Linked DNA regions of Homo sapiens: region 1 is linked to region 2. Evidence: promoter capture Hi-C in human tissues and cell types (Jung and others, 2019). All regions are on one chromosome and are shown on one strand. Each heading gives the region's core, a stretch centred on a gene start or on the middle of the fragment in contact. The rest is flanking DNA. Distances are from core to core; before and after follow the strand shown.

What was found. Contacts are between HindIII fragments. The study calls those that stand out against the background at their distance.
Region 1: a contact is called between a fragment that was not itself captured here and the fragment with the promoter of IP6K1 in region 2, in 1 of the 25 tissues and cell types used here (lymphoblastoid cells).

What each region holds. Positions count from the first base shown.
Region 1 is chr3:50,245,108-50,250,161 of GRCh38, forward strand. The region is part of intron 1 of GNAI2 (G protein subunit alpha i2); the gene reads left to right. Among named protein-coding and RNA genes, the nearest start is that of GNAI2, 11 kb to the left of the region's middle. RefSeq lists enhancers at 532-1,247, 980-1,079, 1,248-1,963. The HindIII fragment of the contact is 4,753 bases long and covers 394-5,054 here.
Region 2 is chr3:49,784,798-49,790,483 of GRCh38, forward strand. IP6K1 (inositol hexakisphosphate kinase 1) reads right to left here and starts at 1,745. Exons shown (of 6, transcript NM_153273.4): 1 at 1,557-1,745. RefSeq lists silencers at 1,359-1,708, 2,444-2,608, 3,389-3,598 and enhancers at 1,423-2,112, 2,199-2,268. The HindIII fragment of the contact is 27,523 bases long and covers 1-5,686 here.

The sequences.
Region 1 (5,054 bases), core at 1,520-4,019, 460 kb after region 2:
CCTGCCTCAGCCTCCAGAGTAGCTGGGATTACAGGCATGTGCCACCATGCCCGGCTAATTTTGTATTTTTAGTAGAGACAGGGTTTCTCCATGTTGGTCAGGCTGGTCTCGAACTCCTGACCTCAGGTGATCCGCCCACCTCAGCCTCCCAAAGTGCTGGGAATACAGGCGTGAGCCACCCCGCCCCGCCAGTGCCGTGATTCTTAGCATGGTCTCCTGGCCTGTGGACACAAGGACAGCTGCTGGCTTGGGTTGGGCCCTGAGGCAGTTTGGGGTGACTTTGAAGAGGCTACTCAGGGCAGGCCTTGGGTTTGGCACCCTCCCTCAAGGGGTACATTTCATAGATGAGGCCTAGGCTCCCGTTATCTTTCCCAGAGTCCACCGCCATGAATCAGAAGGGAAAAGAGGTCATTCAGGTGCCTTGGGAACAGCGGAGGGATGCCTGAAATGAAGAGGCCTCCAGGGAGACGGTGCCAAATGGCCCAGCTCCGCGTGATCCGCGTCTTGTCCAGCACCTCCTGGCTCCTGCACAGGCGGTACCTGGGGCCTGAGGCGCCAGCGATGAACAGGTCTGGGGCCTCCTTTATATCAGGCCAGCCTTCCTCACCCGGTGCCTGAGTTTCCCTCTGTGCAGTGGAAAGGGCCCCACTGAGGGAGACACACCTTGCCCCAGAAAGACTTTCCCATGTGTGGGCAGGACCTGAGGCCTCAGTTTCCCTAACACAGAGATCTCTGACTTGGCAGTAGGAAGCCAGGCCCTGCTTGGTAGTGCTCCCCTTTGGGCACTGTGAACCCCTGGAAGCCGCTGGAGGCAGCCGAGTGCCAGAGACTGGCGGGAGGGAGGTGTGGAGTCTGTTGGTCTGTTCAGGCATCCGTTATAGGGCCATGCCACACACATGGGTGGGAGTGTTGCCGGTCCCTTTCAAGACCTCGAGTCCCTGCCTCCCAGTGCCGGACCCGTGCTGAGCCTTCTCGGAGGGAATGAGGGGGGCCGGGGAGCAGCACCTGGAGGAAGGAAGAGACGCCAGGGGCGGGGCTCAGAGGGCCTTTGTCTGGCGGGGTCTCTGCCCCTCCCTCCCGTTGCCATGGTTTCTGTGTGTGCCGAGTCTCTGCAGGCTGGGGGCTTCCCAGGGACGGGCTGGTGGGTGGGACACCTTCCCCAGTCGCCCCTGGCTGAGGCTGCTTTTCTGAAACAAAACGCTCCCCAGTGCTGCCCAGCCCCCACTTCCTTCCACAGTGTCTCCGGCTGCCGGGCGCCCCCTGGTGGTGGCGGGGCATGGGTCCCTAGGACTGCAGGGGACGTGGGGGTGCACGGGATCTGAGAACCACAGGCTGAGCTGGAGATGTGGCACCTTCCTGGGATAAGAGAAGGAGGTGGTGTCCGGGCTGCCTTTGTGGTGGGCTCAGGGCTACCCCCACCTGCCCCACCATATCCCACTGGGATAGGCTGGGGAGTTGTGGCAGTGTGGGCGGGCCTGGTGTTGTGGGTTTGAGCTGGGCCGCTGCCCAAGTCTACCCTGTGGTCCCAGCCGCTGCTGCTTCTGAGAATCTCTGCCCTCGGGCCTGCCACGTCAGCTGGCTGCTCTTCCTGGCCCCACGTGTTCCCACGGAGCCCACCAGTATGGGGGTTCTCTCCAGGGAGGTGTGCCTGGCTTTCTGGGTGTGTGCAGCCAGTGAGCAATGTCAGCAGTGAGGCTCCTGGGCAGGAAGGAGGCCCCAGCTGTGTAGGAGTGCCGGGTTATACTGAAGGGAAGTGACGACACAGCGGAAAGCCAACAGAGGAGCCAGTAGCTCTGACTCCTGTCCCAGGTTATGCTGAGTCCCAGCAGGGAACCACCACAGCTCTGAATCAGCCTGTTAGCCGCTGTCCATTGCTCTTCATCTGCTCTTTATCTGAAAATCTTCAGAAGCTTTCCTTCAAATGAGATGACCACAGCAGTCTTCTCTGCAGGTTGCAGGAAATGAGAGGTTTGGGGAAATCTGTACTCTTTCAAAGGGTAGATAAATAGTGATAACTTTTACCTGAATGCTCACATGTGCCCCACACTGTGAGAAGAGCTTTGCATTTAATCCTTACCCATCTCTCAGAAGGAGACAGCGTTGTCCCATTTCACAGATGAGGTGCCAGAGAAAGGGCAGGAAAGGAGCTGAAGCTCTTGAGGATCTCAGGAAGGATCAGAGTGGACATCAGGGCTGTGGCAAGTCTGGACCTCCTTCTGGGAGAGGATCTGAAAATGGGAGGCAGGCTGGCTGGCTGCTTGAGGCTTGACAGCTCTGCCCAGGGGAAACTGAAGCCAGAAAGGATAGTAGCAAGTCCCAGCCTCCCAGCAGATCAAAGCCTATTAAGGAGTTAGAGGGTCCAAGATGAACAGATGCTGTGACTTGAATGCTGGGGCCTGGACTAAGCATCAAGTGACAAGACCTGTGGGCCTGTCTCTCCTGCTGCAGGGGCCCTGCTGGTCTTGTTCACGCAGGTGGAGTGGTACTGTCTCCCTTCTCTCATCGGTTCCCTCCTCTGGGGCTCAGCACTCCCAAAGTGGAAGCAGATGTTCTAGTGCAGAGCAGCTGCCACCACCCAGCACATCACTATGATTACTGCCTACCTGCTGTGGGCCCTAACTGCGCCACAGGGCAAAGGCTGCAGAGGTTTCTTCCTTGGTGGGAAGAGGTGTGACTCAGTGGGAATGCCAAGGCCACCCCAGGGAACCTCTGCAGGCCTCTCTGGTCTTACCCAGCTGGGGACAGAGCACTTGGTGGGGCCCTCTGCGGGCAGGAGGGGCTGATTCATGCCACCTTCTATTGCCTCAGTTCCCCTACCCAGCATCTTTGCAGAAATCTGGACTCAGGCTGGACGCGGTGGCTCACGCCTGTAATCCCAGCACTTTGGGAGGCCAAAGCAGGTGGATCACTTGAGGTCAGGAGTTCGAGACCAGCCTGGCCAACATGGTGAAACCCTGTCTCTACTAAAAATACAAAAATTAGCCGGGCGTGGTGGCACATGCCTGTAGTCCCAGCTACTGGGGAGGCTGAGGCAGGAGAATTGCTTGAACCGGGAGGCAGAGGTTGAACCGGGAGGCAAAGGTTGCAGTGAGCCAAGATCATGCTATTGCACTCCAGCCTGAGCAACAGAGCGAGACTGTGTTTCAAAAAAAAAATCTGGACTCAGCCACCCCTCTGAGAGGCAGGTGCGAGGGGAGCTGGGTGTGTGCAAAACTCACAGATAAGCCTCTTGCCAGCTTATCTGGTAGGGGGCATCCCTCAGGTCCTGATGGAAAGAGGACCCAGCCAGAGATGGGGAGAGTGAAGCTACTACCCCACAGCTGCCAGGGCACTTAGCCTGTGGGCTGCCCGAGAGCTCTTCACCCCACCCATTCCACCCAGATGCCATCCTGGGGCTCCACCCACCTCTGCTCCTGTCCCCCTTCTCTGCTGGAGCTGCTCCTGGGCTGTGCCCCTGCCTCTGTCCCGTTGTTCCCCCTGCTTCCTGCCTGGCTGCCAGCACCACACCCTTGTCCTGCCACTCACTACTTCCCGCCTGAGTCACAGCTGCTGGAAAGACAAAGAGACCAGCCTGAGTCTAGGGATAGGGGCTCCATGACCTTGATTTGCTTACCTGTCAAGTGGAACTCTTTTTTCAGTGACCCCTGCTTGGGATAGAGAATGTTCTCTTAACATTTAAGAGGCCTTAGGAGGGGAAAATGAAACTTGAAGGGGACAGGGAAGTGGGCCCTCCCTGGCTGGGGCAGGGAGCAGATATCCTGGCTCCTAGTGTGACTGGCTCTGTGCTGCCTACCTCATGTCTACCAGGTCTAGCTGCTGCTAGGAAAATCAGATGCAAAGCAAGTTTGCACCCTCGTCCCTGGGCAGGGTCACGAAGCGGCCCACATCACCTACTAAGAGTGGGCAAAAGGCCAGACCCCCTCTTCACTCTCAGTGGCCAGATAGGGAAACTGATGCCTCAAGTGGGCAGGAGTCCCGAAGTCACACAAGATGGGGAAGCTTTCACCCTAGACCTCAGGTCCCCCATGCCCTGGGTAGCTTCCCTGCTGAGTCTGAGCTCGCCTGGCTCGGGACTGCATGGGGACCCATGACTTCGCATCCTTGGCCTCTGCTCCTGCAGTTCCCCCCATCCTGGCTGTGACTGGCTCCTGGTTCTTCCTCCTGCTCTGGAGGAGCCAGTGGGGAAGACAGTCAGGTAGCCACTGCTGCCCTCCCTGCCCCAGTGGGTGCTTTGAGCCCCAGGGGGATGGGCCTTAAGTGTTCAGGCATCGCTGTGAGGCTTTCCTGGGACCTTTCCCCATGTCCTCATTGGCAGGTGGAGGAGTGTTGGTATGCAGATCCTGGCTGCCCCTTTGCCATGCACAGCCCAATGGGGAGGGAGTGGTGCTGGTATATATCCCGGTACACACCCCAGTGAAGATACTGGGCCCGGCCCCTGTAGTGCCCAGGGGCTAAAGCAATAGAGGGGATTGCTGCCCCAGCCACAGCGCCCCAGCCTTCCCAGGGCCTGCACATTTGTATGTCCACAAGATTGTGCAACCATCACTGCTATCTAATTCCAGAACATAATCACCACCCTCAAAAATAAACTTCATACCCAACTAGCTGTCACTCCCCATCTCCCCAGATCCCCTCCCCTCATCCTGGAAAGCAGGCCTGGGACAGTCAGAAGCTCAGTGATTGCAGGCGCCTGATGGCATTTGTGAGGAGGGCTCAGGCCTTTCCCCTCAGGGTGGTCTCTGGCGTAGGGGGCTGAAGGTGGGCAGGGGCCTTGGCAAGGCCTGCCACCATGTCCCAATGCCTGCTGCCGCTTGTTGAGCACTGCAGACATGGCCCAGAGTCTGCCTGGGGAGCTAGGGAGTGAACCCAGTGCCAGGTGGACTGTGTGGCTCCGCTGCAGTACCAGGTACTTAGGACAGCTCTAGGAGGGACTGCACGGTGGGCAAGTGTGCTCCCTGCAGAGGGGACTCTAACCCTGTGACCTCAGCCTCCCTGGACCTCAGTTCCTTCACTGGTTAGATTGGGGTGAGAATGGAACCTACCTCCCAGGATTG
Region 2 (5,686 bases), core at 495-2,994:
AGCCAGGTGTGGTGGCACGTGCCTGTAGTCCCAGCTACTCGGGAGGCTGAGGCAGGAAAATTGCTTGAACCAGGGAGTCAGAGGTTGCAGTGAGCCGAGATGGCACCACTGTACTCCAGCCTGGCAACGGAGCAAGACTCCATCTCAAAAAAACAAAACAAAACAAAACAAAACAAAAAGTGCACAAAGTATTGTCGCTTGACTTCTTAGTCATCTCATGCAGGCATATTCTATGACCACATACAAGAAGACTGTACAAAGAACCAAAGAGGCCACAGGTCAAGAGAAATGTGTTTTGGAGCAATGAGAACTCTTCCTAGACCTGCACACTCTACTGAGGATCTCCAACTTGCCCAAATTCACAGGAAAGGGGCTTGAAGGTGTTTTCACTGAGCAAGATAATTTTAGTACTGTTAAAAGTTAATTTGCGCCGGGCATAGTGGCTCACACTTGTAACCCCAGCACTTTGGGAGGCCAAGGGGGGTGGATCACGAGGTCAGGAGTTCGAGACCAGCCTGGCCAACATGGTGAAACCCCGTCTCTATTAAAAATACAAAAATTAGCCGGGCATGGTGGCGCGTGTCTGTAGTCCTACCTACTCGGGAGGCTGAGGCAGGATAATCGCTTGAACCCGGGAGGTGGAGGCTGTGGTGAGCCGAGATCGCGCCACTGCACTCCGGCCTGGGCAACAGAGCGAGAGACTCTGTCTCAAAAGAAAAAAAAGAAAAAAAACAGTTAATTTGCCAGTTCCATATCATCCACAACAAAAACAAGTTTCTTTTTCCGATTCTAAGACACTCCTACGTTTCCTTTGTCTCCTATGGCGAGCATCCCTTTAGGAGATAAAATCAAGTCATCACCATAATACTCACTTTCTCCTAAAGCAAAAAGAGGAAGACATTACCACTCTCCAAAAAGTGGTGGTGAAGAACCAAAGAAATTATGTTCCAAAATAAAACTCAGCCATTATGGACATTTAACCAGGTTCTTTGCGAGGAAAACGGTGAGCTTCGAGGTACACGTGAGGTTCCGAACGGGTCTCAGGAAGCAGCAGCCAGGCAGAGGGTCCCCCTTGCCATAATCATAGGGCCGTGACACCGGCCTGCCTGGCTCGCGGGGGCTTTGGCTTGCTTCGTCTAGTCTTAGCATCCAGCGTCCTGAAAATCACTCGCAGGAACGCTATCTAAGAAAGAGGTAAGTCTATTTCTCAGCCAGGAGCAACATAACTCCCAGGAGAGCATCAGGGTGGCACCGGACACACTTTAGCGCTCCGGATCAGCGGAGTCCAGAGCTTCGGTCAGAGAAGCTGGTTTCCCGCTACTAGCCGGCCAACCCTCAGGCACTGGCGCTCTCCGTCCTCCACACCGGCTGTCCCCCCGGCTTCGGTGCCAGCATCTGGGAGGCTCGGCGGGCGGCCGGTCAGGACGCTCGAGCGATGTTCCAGTGATGGCCCCACCGGAGCCCCGACCCCACACGCGCCCACTCCAACCCCGCGCCCGCCACCGCCCTCCCCGCGGGCGTCAGGCCGGTCTATCGGCCCGGCTCCTGTCACTCACCTGCCCGGCCCGGGCACCGAGCGCCCACGGCTCCCTACGGGAGCTGGGCCCCCCGGGCCTCCAGGTTTCGGCCCGCCCCCTGGCAGGCAGCACAGGTGGCTGAGCACCGCTACAGCGGCCTCTCACCGGCCGCTTGGTCCAGCTCCCGGCGCTGCCCACTGGGTACGGATCAACAACAAGATGGCGGCTAGCCGAGGGGGCGGGGGCCGGGCGTCATAGTAACCAGGACTGCAAAGAACCCGCCCCCGAGGGGGTGCTATCCCCAATCAACAGTCTTTTTGCTCGTCGCCAGGGGAAGTGCTTCCTGCTGACAGGTCAGCTCACGTGTCAGTCAGAGTCTGCCTCTCAGGGCCTCTGCCGAAAGCGTGGGGCACGTGACTGTGACGGCATGGGTTGGCGCATGCGCTTCGTTCCCGGAGTGGCTGGCGGCGGAGTTTTCGCTGGCTACTACGAGGCCGGAGCGCCCTTGGCCTCTCTGCGTCCCTGGCCCTCGTGCGGTACCGGCGGCGTCTTGTCATACACTTGCGCACACACAGGGAATCTCAGCGGTGTGCTATTCGTTTTTTTGTCCCCCACTCTGGGAGAAGGGGGGTGCAGCCCCCAGTTCACTCTGGAGAGGAAACTGAGGCTCAGAGAGGGGAGGCCGAGCCAAGGTCACGCCACCTCTAGAAATGGAGGTGCTGGGTCTCGCACCTCCTCCTGCTGGTTTCAGAGTGTGAGGAGCCTCTATCCCAGCTTCCCACGCTTTGTCCCTTACTAGCCTCGAGGTACCGCAGTCTGTGCTGCCACAGCAGCCTCTGGCTCATTGCCCATGCTTTCCTGCCTGAGGTTTAGAGCCTAGCACAAGTCCTGACACACAGCGGGCACTCCCTTTTCTCTTCCCTAGAGCATCTTGTCTTGAGATCCTGTGACAGCATCTTTTGCCCTGGACTGTCATGACCGGCCTCCCAAGCAGACTAATGGTCCCAGGAAGATGGTCACACCTTGCTCCCCATACAGAACACCTAACTCTGGGCTTGGCTTCAGGCTTAGAACAACAGATGAAGTTACGTGGCCTGGGCCCACACCCAAATGCCCCAACTAGCTAACTCTGACTTTTGAGCCTTAGCCTCTCTTTAGCTTTGGTTGTCCCATCTGTAAAATGAAGATAAAAGTGGAGCTTCTCAGAGGAAGATTTAATGAGCCCTCAGAGCAGGGGAAGAACTCAGGAAAAATCTGCCTACAACCACTTCCTGGAACAACCTGCTTCCAAGTTGCTGTTCCTGAGGCGTGCCTTAAAACACTAACTTTGGTGGAAGCCCCATGAAGCGTTTTTGTTTTGCTTTGTTTTGTTCCCACAGAAGGCTTTCAGCTTCTTCCTGGCCCTGGGATACCATAACTGGTTCAGAAGGGGAGGTCCTCCTAGCTAGGCGCAGTGGCTCATGCCTGTAATCCAGCACTTTGGGAGGCCAAAGAAGGTGGATCACTTGAGGTCAGAGGTTCGAGACCAGCCTGGCCAAAATGGTGAAACCCTGTCCCTACTAAAAATACAAAAATTAGCTGGACGTGATGGCAGGTGCCTGTAATCCCAGCTACTCAGGAGGTTGAGGCAGGAGGATCACTTGAACCTGGGAGGCAGAGGTTCAGTGAGCTGAGATCACGCCACCACACTCTAGCCTGGGTGACAGAGCAAAATTCTGTCTCAAAAAAAAAAAAGGGAGGTTCTCCAGTACCCTGAGGGGGTTCAGGCCCACAGACTCAACAGACGAGTAAAGACTGTGATAACTTGGATTTACCACAGTAAGGTCCTCTTGGAGAGCTGGCAGAAGCCTGAGACCTGATGTCAGGTTGGGCATGGAGAGTGGGCCAACACTGCATCCAGCAAGACCTGCCCACCAGCAGATTGCTGCAGGCCACTTGGCTACATGCAATAGCTCAGGTCAACACAGGGAGATGTGAGAGCAGAGGAACCAGAAGAAACAGATCAGGAAGAAAAGCCAACAACCCTCAAAAGGGGGATTCTGCTAATCCTCCAGGACCAGCCATGCCACAGGATTCTCAAGTCTGCATCACCCCTCACCGCAGTGCAAAAGCTCCAGATCCTTCCCAAGAAAACCTCCACATACAGTTGGCAAATTGCCCTGAAGTTTGATGGGACCCTCAAAAAGCAACAGTGGTATAACTACTGTGGATAACAGTTCGGAGGTTCCTCAGAAAACTAAAAATACAGCTACCACATGATCCAGCAATCCCACTGCTGGGTATGTACCCAAAGGAAAGGAAATCAGTATATCAAAAAGATATCTGCACTTCCATGTTTGCTGCAGTGCCATTCACAATAGCCAAGATTTGGAAGCAACCTAAGTGTCCATCAACAGGTGAATGGATAAAGAAAATATGGTACATATGGGCCGGGTGCGGTGGCTCACGCCTGTAATCCCAGCACTTTGGGAGGCCGAGGCGGGCGGATCATGAGGTCAGGAGATGGAGACCATCCTGGCTAACACGGTGAAACCCCATCTCTACTAAAAATACAAAAAATTAGCCGGGCGTGGTGGCAAGCGCCTGTAGTCCCAGCTACTCAGGAGGCTGAGGCAGGAGAATGGCGTGAACCCAGAAGGCGGAACTTGCAGTGAGCCGAGATCACGCCACTGTGCTCCAGCCTGGGCAACAGAGCGAGACTCCATCTCAAAAAAAAAAAAAAGAAAAGAAAATATGGTACATATGCAGAATGGAATATTATTCAGCCATTAAAAAGAATGAGATTGTGAGATTGGCTGGTGCGGAGGCTCATGCCTGTAATCCCAGCACTTTGGGAGGCTGAGGCAGGAGGATCACCTGAGGTCAGGAGTTCAAGACCAGCCTGGCCAACATAGGAAAACTCCATCTCTACTAAAAATAAAAAATAAAAAAATTAGCCGGCATGGTGGTGCACACCTGTGGTCCCAGCTACTCAGGAGACTGAGGCACGAGAATTGCTTGATCATGAGAGGCGGAGGTTGCAGTGAGCCAAGATCGTGCCACTGTACTCCAGCCTGGGTGACAAAGTAAGACTACATCTCAAAAAAAAAAAAAAGGAAAAAGATTTAAACAAAACAATTGAATTCATGGAGATAGTGAGTAGAAGGATAGTTACCAGAGTCTGGAAGGGGTGGGGAGGTGGGACGGTTAATGGGTACCAAAAAAAAAGAAAAATGAATAAGACCTAGTGTTTGATAGCACAACAGAGTGACTGTAGTCAATAATAACTTAATTGTACAGTTTAAAATAACTGAAAGAGTATAATTGGATTATTTGTAACACAAAGGATAAATGCTTTAGGGGATGGATGCCCCATTTTCGATGAGGTGATTATTAACCATTACATGCCTTATTAAAACATCTCATGTACCTCCAAATTTATACACCTATGTACCCACAAAAATTAAAAATTAAGAAAAAAATTAAAAAGAGAAACATCTCAACAACAACAACAACAAAAGCAACAGTGAGCTAGGCACGGTGGCTCACACCTATAATCCCAGCACTTTGGGAGGCTGAAGGGGGAGGATGGCTTGGACCCAGGAATTCAAGACCAGCCTGGTCAACATAGAGAGATCCCATCTCTACAAAAAAATTAAAAATTAGCCAGGCATGGTGGTCCATGCCTGTAGTCCCACCTACTTGGGATTCTGAGTAGGAGGATCGATTGAGCCTGGGAGGTCAAGGCTACAGTGAGCCACAATCACACCGTTGCACTCCAGCCTGGGCAACAAAGCCAGACAGCCAGACCCTATCTTTCTCTCTCTCTCTCTCTCTCTCTCTCTCTCTCTCTCTCTCTCTCTCTCTCTCTCTCTCCCCCTCTCTCCCTCTCCCCGCCCCCTCTCTCCTTCACACACATGCGCGCGCGCGCGCGCACACACACACACACACACACACACACACACACACACGCAGCATTGTTCTCTCTCTTCTGGATAGGAAAAGGAAGCAGGTGGCCCTGAGGAGACATGCTGATTGGAGGCCCCTCAGTCACTGACAAGGATGATAGCCTATTACTTCTATAGAGCATCAGTCACACTGTCAGTCTGAGCATCACACAATACCTTCTTAAAAGAAAAATAAAGCCAGGTGCAGTGGTGCGCCCATCGTCCCAGCTACCCAGGAGGCTG